Linked DNA regions of Homo sapiens: region 1 is linked to region 2. The links are contacts of gene promoters, found by promoter capture Hi-C in human tissues and cell types (Jung and others, 2019). All regions are on one chromosome and are shown on one strand. Each heading gives the region's core, a stretch centred on a gene start or on the middle of the fragment in contact. The rest is flanking DNA. Distances are from core to core; before and after follow the strand shown. Region 1 overlaps TEKT5 (tektin 5). Region 2 holds the start of EMP2 (epithelial membrane protein 2).

Region 1 (4,161 bases), core at 1,412-3,911, 88 kb before region 2:
TGGTCTGGGGATGACTTGGAAAGGCTCTTTTAGTTGGCTATTGGTACCTGGTTTCTCACCTGTGAAACAGGGATAAGAATTTCTACATGGTAACATTACTGTATTAATGAGGTAATCTCTGGAGCTCTTAAAACAGTGCTTGACAAATGATAAACACTCAGTAAAAAGGTAACTGTAAGTATTAATATAATTACTGATGGAGAGAGAAAGGATCTTTTGAATGGAGGTGGGGAGAGCAAAACCTTTTCGCTTTCCAAATTCCTCTAGTGAGGATCCCTTGAGCCCCGGAGTTTGATGCTGCAGTGAGCTATGATCGTGGCACTGCACTCCAGCCTGGGTGACAGAGCAAGACATTGTCTCTAAAAAATTAAAATTAAAATAAGTTGAAATAAATAAATAAATACATAAATAAATAAATAAATAAAAATAAAAATTCCTCCAGGGAAGTTTTGAATTATTACTAACAACCTCATCACTACAGACTGGAGGGTTTTTGCAACCTCATGGATTTTTATTAATAGTCATAATTTAATCACCAGCTGTTCTGCAAATAAGTTAGCACCCATCTGAAATGCACCAAACTCCAACCCTACGCTATTGACATTTTCCTGAGCAAGGATTTGTCTTCTGGTTGGTGAATTTCACATGGTGTTATTCTAAAATAATAAAGGAATTTGATGCAATGAAGATAAATGTATAGCAACCATTTCACTTTTCAACAGTTTACTTTGGCTAGAGGATTTGAAATGCTCTCTTCTTTTTTTGAGGTGGAGTCTCACTCTATCGTGCAGGCTGGAGTGCAGTGACGAGATCTTGGCTTACTGCAACCTCTGCCTTCCAGGTTCAAGTGATTCTCCTGCCTCAGCCTCCTGAGTAGCTGGGCAGCTGCCACCATGCTCGGCTAATTTTTGTATTTTTAGTAGAGATGAGGTTTCACCATGTTGACCAGGCTGGTCTCAAACTCCTGATCCCAGGTGATCCACCCGCCTTGGCCTGCCACAGTGCTGGGATTACAGGCTTGAGCCACCGTGCCCGGACTGAAATGCTCTCTTTAAAAATGTAACTGTTATTAGTTGAGCTTAGCCTGATAGTCCTTGGCAAAAGGCATTTCTGGAAAATTCCAAGTGCCCATCCTTACCTATGCTGCAAGGCAGTTATTTCCCAAGTGGTCACAGGAATCCACCTTGTAAGACCAAATCTACACGGCTCCACGTGCAGACAGTGGTTTGGGGCTGTGCAGACAGCCTCATCTGTTCACTGGGATGCTAGAGTTCTGTCACCTCGGCCACACCCCAAGCCTCATAGCTTGCCCCGGGGCCTCATCCTTGCACTTTGAGGCTCCAGGTATCACTGTGTCATACTGACCACTGCTAGCAAAGGAGCTGGTGACTTCTCTGGACTAAAGAAGTTGGTGGCCACAGAGTGGGTTGCTGCCTTTGAGTGCTGATTCCTCTGAGACCCAGGGCCCTGGAAACTTCCAGAAAAACAACCCCTCATTTACATGCAATTACCCAAGTGAATGTGCATTTGAGTGGGGGATCTCTTAATGTGTAGGGGGAAAAGATGCATAAATATGGTTTTTGGGGGTAGGATGTGTGGGGTCAGGGATACTTCTATGGAGAAAGTGCTTATTCTGACATTGTGGGAACTAGACCCTGGCAGGTGAAATATTATATGTGTTACATGGATATAGCATTAATATCACTGAATCATACAATGAGAAGGTTATTCCTTCTTCATTGCTTCTGACCATCTCAAAAGTGCTAGAATGCCTTCCTTACCTCTTTTAACACCTGCCAATCTCCCTTTTATAATTTTTTTTTGGAGACAGGGTCTCTCTTTGTTGCCCAGGCTGGAGTGCAGTGGCACGATCTCGGCTCACTGCAACCTCCGCCTGCCAGGTTCAAGCGATTCTCCTGCCTCAGCTTTCCGAGTAGCTGGGATTACAGGCATGCACCACCTTGCCCAGCTATTTTTTTTTTGTATATTTAGTAGAGATAGGGTTTAACCATGGTGGCCAGGCTGGTCTTCAGGTGATCCACCGGCCTCAGCCTCCCAAAGTGCTAGGATTACAGGCGTGAGCTACCGTACGTGGCCTCACCTGTTGATAAGCATTTCGGTTGTTTCCAGTTTGGGGCTGTTACAAATAAAGCTGCTGTGAACACTCATGTACACATATTTGTATGCACTCTCACAGAGTTCAAAAAATATTTGGTAAAAAATGGTGATTTCACATAAAAAAATTTCAGATTTCCAGCGTCTCTTGAAAAATTAGTAGCTCTAGCAATTCAGAGCTCATGTTTCTACAGGGGAACAGTGGGTAAGGGTTGAGTGGCTGCTGCCTCTCTTTGGGTCAGGTGCTCCAGTTAGCCTCAGACCCCACCACTCCCTATTACAGCACGCTTCCCTCATTTGCATTATTTACTTGATCCTGTAGCCCTGTATTTGTGCACTCTGCTTTATATATCAGAGGAAACTCAGACAGGCAGATAAACAAAACATCCAGGCATAGGAAGAGGTTGAACAGAACAGAGAAGGGCTATGAATTTTAACCTTGAAGGGCTTTGGTTTCATTCTGAAGTTTCTTTGGGGTTTTGACTCCCAAGCAGCCATTGTTAGCATCAGCAAAACCACCCCTTCCCAGGAAGGCCTGGGCAGGAAGGCCTGGCGTCTGAGGGGTGAGGGCCCCTGCTGGTGATCTGAGGCCCTGCGTGTCTACTGCCAACCCCTCTGTTTGTCCAAGGAGGTCTGGAACCCATTGTGCAGTGGGAAATGCTTTTGTGCTTTGCAGCCGATTCCTTCCAGCACTGGAGCCTGCAGCCAAGCTACTGACGGCTGGTTTCTAAAACCGGCCCAGCCCTGGGGAAGTGGAGCTGGCAGCCTGGCCCTGTGCTACCCTCCTCATGAGACACCACTGCATCCCAGGGAGAAAGTCTCTCTCTTCTCTGATGGTGTCACGGAGGAAGACTCATCATGATGCCGACCTCTCTTTAACACCTATCCTTCCTTTGCCCGTCTGCCTTTCTAACAAAGGCATCAGGCCTCAGGCTTAGAAGCTTTGGAAAGCAATAGAACCTAGATATAATTATTAACTTCTTTTTTCCAGCTAGGTGTGGTGGCTCACATCTGTAATCCCAGCACTTTGGGAAGCCAAGGCAAGCAGATCACCTGAGGTCAAGAGTTCCAGATAAGCCTGGCCAACATGGTGAAACCTCCGTTTCTACTAAAAATACAAAAATTAGCTGGGCATGGTGGCGCATGCCTGTAGTTCCAGCTACTTGGGAGGCTGAGGCAGGAGAATGACTTGAACCTGGGAGGTGGAGGTTGCAGTGAGCCAAGATCATGCCACTGCACTCCAGCCTGGGCGACAGAGCGAGTCTCCATCTCAAAAAAAAAAAAAAATTATTAACTTATTTTTCCCATTTTGCCTATTGTTATGGTACCCTCTATTGGTGGAAAACAATAGTAGTTTTCCACTTGTGGAAATAATTTAAAGATTTCATTTCAAATACATATGTTAAAGCCTGAAACAGGCTGATTTGAAGAAAAATATTAAATGATTATGTAGATGGTATGTGGATATGGGAAATATGATGACGATGCTGCCCAGTACCTGAAATTTGGGAATGTTAAAAGAAAAACTTAAAGCAGATTAAATTTAACAGAATTTAATTGAGCAAAGAATGATTCGTGAATTGGGCAGCCCCCTGAACCAGAATGGATTCAGAGCAACCCCAAAGCTGCCACGTGGTCGGATGATATTTACAGACAGAAAAAGGAAAGTGATGCACAGAAGACGGAAGTCAGGTACAGAAACAGCCAGATTGGTTACTGCTCATTGTTTGTTTGCCTTATTTGAACATGATTTGAACAGTTGGCTGCCTGCGATTGGCTAAAATTCTGTGATTGGTATAGGAGTCGGTTCCAGGCTGTTCACACATCCAGTTAGGTTACAGTTCACTGTGTAGGGGAGAGATCTTTAACATACGTAAGGAAGGAAGCCAGGCGTGGTGGCTCATGCCTGTAATCCCAGCACTTTTGGAGGCTGAAGTGGGAGGATAGCTTGAGCCCAGGAGTTTGAGACCAGCCTGGGCCACAGAGTAAGATCTTGTTTCTACAAAAAACATAAAAATTAGCTGGGCATGGTGGCATGCGCCTGTA
Region 2 (3,931 bases), core at 1,098-3,597:
GATCTTGCAATAGTTCTGATAACAGAAGAAAGACTTCTCTGTGTTAGCATGCTTTTAACATCTTACTGATCACCCCCACTGTTTTTTTAAGAGACAGGGTCTTGCTATGTTGCCTAGGCTGCCTCGGAACTCTCAGGCTCAAGCGATCCTCCAACCTCAGCCTCCCGAGCAGCTGGGATTACAGGTAAGCACCACCGCACCTGGCTCCCTTTTAATAGACGCTAAACCTCAGACTCATGGACTCTTTCAGGCAACAGTATCTGGCTACAATTTACTAACACTGTTTTATTTCAATAGTGTTTATATTCATAAGTTTGTCTTCTACTTTTGGCAGATGGCACTGGTTTCCTGTTTACCATAGCAATATAGGGCTTTCTTTTTCAAATAAACATATTAAAATCAACGGAGTTAATTTAAAGAAAACAATTAAGTGAATACCAGTTCAGGTGGAAGGTGGATATGGCAAAATTTAGAGCTTGAGTGTGGTTAGCATTTGGTAAATAGTGATAGGGTGGAAAGAGGAGAATGGGGTTTGCTGCAGTGAGTCTGGGTTCAAATCCAAACTTTATCAACTGCATAGAGACTTTGGGTAAGTTACTGGTGTAGCTTCTCTGAGCCTTAGTTTCTTCATGGATAAAATGAGGGTAACTTGTTTTGCAGGGCTGCCGTGTTCTATTGAAGGTTATGTTTGTAAAGTAACCGGCACACACTAAGCCCTCAGCAAATGCAGAAACCTGCCTGCTCCATCCCCTACCTGGCCTTTCCATTCTGGGAGACTCTGGAGTTTTCTCTGTCCTCCACATGGCCATAGGCAGGTAGGTGGGCCCTTCCTGGTCCTCCTCTATAGCAACCAGACCTCACCCTCCTCCCCTTTTATGGAGGAAGAGGACTCAGTTCATATTAGTGCCTTCCTGTCCCCTCTCCAGCTCCAAACACACACACACACACACACACACACACACACACACACACACACAATTATCTTGGGGGATGGGAGTCTTGGTTAACTGTAGAATTAAAGGAGATTTGGCAGGTCAGACCCTAGGCCAACTTGGGAAGCTCAAGGCCTGGGGGAGGGGGTGGCCCTTTAGAGGGGATCTCAAATCCCCCAAGGATCTCTAATTTAGAGCCAACAAGGCCCTCTCGTGACAGAGCTCCTCAGCAGGACTAAAAAAAGATGCTCAACAGAAAATACAAACATGGAGTCCAACCAGAGCACAGGATTGCACAATAAATTAACATTTCTTAAAAGGGTTTCTCATTCTCTTGTCAGTAGCACAAGTCAATTGCCTTGTATTCTGGGGTATGTGCAAGTAACATGAACTTGTTAAATTAAAAGTTTAAAATATACTGTTATATGTTGTGACCCTGTTTTGGAATTTCTTCAATTTGTAAAAATACACTGACTCCCACTCCCTCCTTCCACACACACACGATGGGGCTCAGGCGCCTCTGGTCTCCTCCCCCATCCTCCCAAGAGCCCCTAGAGCAGATCAGCCCTCCCAGTTTCCAGATGGGGAAACTGAGGCTGGAAAGAAAGGCAGTTCCTTTGATGTCATTTCCAGGGACACTAAATACCAGGACTGTGGGTTGAAAGGCTGTGGGGAGTGCTTTGTGTGAGTGTGTGTGTGTGTGTGTGTGTGTGTGTGTGTGTACTGGTCGGGTGGGGGGAGTGAACGGGGGGTCCTGGAAGAGTCTGAAGACTGGTTGCTGGGCATCTCGCACCAAGGCCAGGACTCCAGGTGAGATGATAAAAATAACAATGGCTGACGTCTATGGAGCAGGTACCATGAGCCAAACATTGTGGACGTATTACCACCTTCCGACCTATAATCACTCCCATTCCCAGAAGAGGAAACTGAGACAGGGGAGATTATGGACGAGCTCAGGAAGTTCATAAAAGGCCAGAGAAGGGGTTCTAGAGCAGGGAGCCCGGATTCCAAAACTCCTTAGGGAAGAGGAAGAAAAGGGGAGAAGAGGAGAGGAAAGAGAATGAGAGGGATGTGGAAACCTGCAGAGAAGGGAAGACCCTTGCTCCCGGGAGCCTCCCTTTCTCCCTTTTCCCCCGGGCCCGTGCCACCGGCTCCGCCCCAAAGCTGGCCACAGAGCCGCAGGGAGGCGGGCGGGAACGGTGGTGCGGGGGCGCCAGGGCGCTCCCGGCCTCGGCCTTTCCCTCCAGGGCCCCCTCCTTTCGCCGGCGGCCCCTCCCACTCGGCTCTCCCGGCTCCTGGCGTCACGGCCCGGGAGGCGGGATCGGGGAAGGAGGGGCCCCGCCGCCTAGAGGGTGGAGGGAGGGCGCGCAGTCCCAGCCCAGAGCTTCAAAACAGCCCGGCGGCCTCGCCTCGCACCCCCAGCCAGTCCGTCGATCCAGCTGCCAGCGCAGCCGCCAGCGCCGGGTGAGTTGTGGGCGCACCCAGGGCGCGGGGCGACATCGGGGGGGCCCCGGGATCGTGTACGCCCGGGCAGCAGGGACGCGACCCCTCCACTTACTGGACCGGGAGCAGCCCCCGGAATTGGTGACAGTAACGGGAGGGCCGAGGTGCCACCCATGCCGCCGACCTCTGGTCTGCGCCACGCTCGCTCCGGCCCCAGAATTCCACTTCGCCATCCCGGGACAGCTTCCCACGCCTTTTGAGCCGAAGCAGGCGGGAAAAGTTTGGGGAGGAGTCAGGGCGCCTCCCCTCGCCCCGCCGGACTTACACCCGGGGCTCTTGGAGTCCAGGGAGATCCCCAGGTCGCGTGAGGGATTCCCGGGCAGCGTCCCCAGACTCGCCTCGCGGGCAGGACTGGTGCGCCAGGCCGGGCCAGCGGGTCCTCCTGGGCTGCGTACCCCTCTAGGCCCCCGCCGCTGCTCCGTCGCGCCCCCGAGCGGCGAGGAGCGACTTCTTGGGGGTCAGGAACGGTGGAGGAGCCGGGAGGCGCTGCTGGGATGACACCTCTCTCCCTGCCAACTCTAGAAGGGCTTGGGGGGCTTTAAAGAGGCGAGACCGCACCCATGTGTTCCAGAGGTAGGAGAGGCTGCAGCTCGTAGTGTGTATTCTACGCCCTCCCCAAATCCAGAGATCTGAGCACGCTCCAGGGAGGTCTTTTAGGTGAAGATGTGGGGCTGGACATGGGGACTCCGAAGACACCACAGGGCAAAGCTCTCCCTCCAGGCCAGCTTCAGTTTTGGGGAAGGGAGCACTGCCCCTCCCAAGCTTTGAGGGTGTGTGTGTGTGTGTGTGTGTGTGTGTGTGCACCTTGATCTTATAATTCAGCTGTGTCTAAGTAAGGGGCTTGGAGAGGGACTTAAGAAGCCTCCAGTTCAAATACAGTGTGATTCCACTTTTATGAGACACCTAGAATAGGCAAATTTTATAGACAGAAAGTAGAATGATGGTTGCCAGGGCCTGGGGGTACCTGGGAACCGGGAGTTACTGTTTAATGGGACAGAGTTTTTCTTGGGGAGGATGAAAAAGTTTTGGGTATACATAGTGGCAATGGTTACACAGTATCGTGAAGGTATTTAATGCCACTGAGTTGTATGCTTATCATCGGTTAAAATGATGATTATGATGTTATGCATATTTTATCATAAAAATTTTTTAAAAGCCGCCTTTAGCCACCTCTGCACTCCAGTCTGAATCAGAGAGAAATCTAAGAACCGACACATTATTGCTGGGCACCTCTTCCTGGAATTCGGCCTTCAGTTAAGAAAGCTTAAAGAGGACGAGGAAGGGACGGGGTCCTGGTTTCCCAGGAGTCACACAAGGGGAAGGATGGCGACCTGAGCTGCTGGAGGTTTGCAGTTGGCTGGTGCTCGCCCTCCATCTCCGTTTCTCCCTGGGAGCCTCACCCCTGAGCTGTTTCCAGCACGCTCTCCTGTTGCAAGTGGGGAAACAGGCTAGAGATCTAAGTCGGTTTGCTCAAGGCCACTGAGCTGGTAAATGCA

Evidence for each region. Contacts are between HindIII fragments. The study calls those that stand out against the background at their distance.
Region 1: a contact is called between a fragment that was not itself captured here and the fragment with the promoter of EMP2 in region 2, in 2 of the 25 tissues and cell types used here (H1 embryonic stem cells and liver).

Annotation. Positions count from the first base shown.
Region 1 is chr16:10,667,122-10,671,282 of GRCh38, reverse strand. All of the region lies in intron 5 of TEKT5 (tektin 5), which reads left to right. Among named protein-coding and RNA genes, the nearest start is that of TEKT5, 26 kb to the left of the region's middle. The HindIII fragment of the contact is 5,003 bases long and covers 160-4,161 here.
Region 2 is chr16:10,579,014-10,582,944 of GRCh38, reverse strand. It overlaps EMP2 (epithelial membrane protein 2), which reads left to right and starts at 2,347. Exons shown (of 5, transcript NM_001424.6): 1 at 2,347-2,396. RefSeq lists silencers at 2,187-2,426, 3,779-3,931 and an enhancer at 3,744-3,931. The HindIII fragment of the contact is 8,569 bases long and covers 1-3,448 here.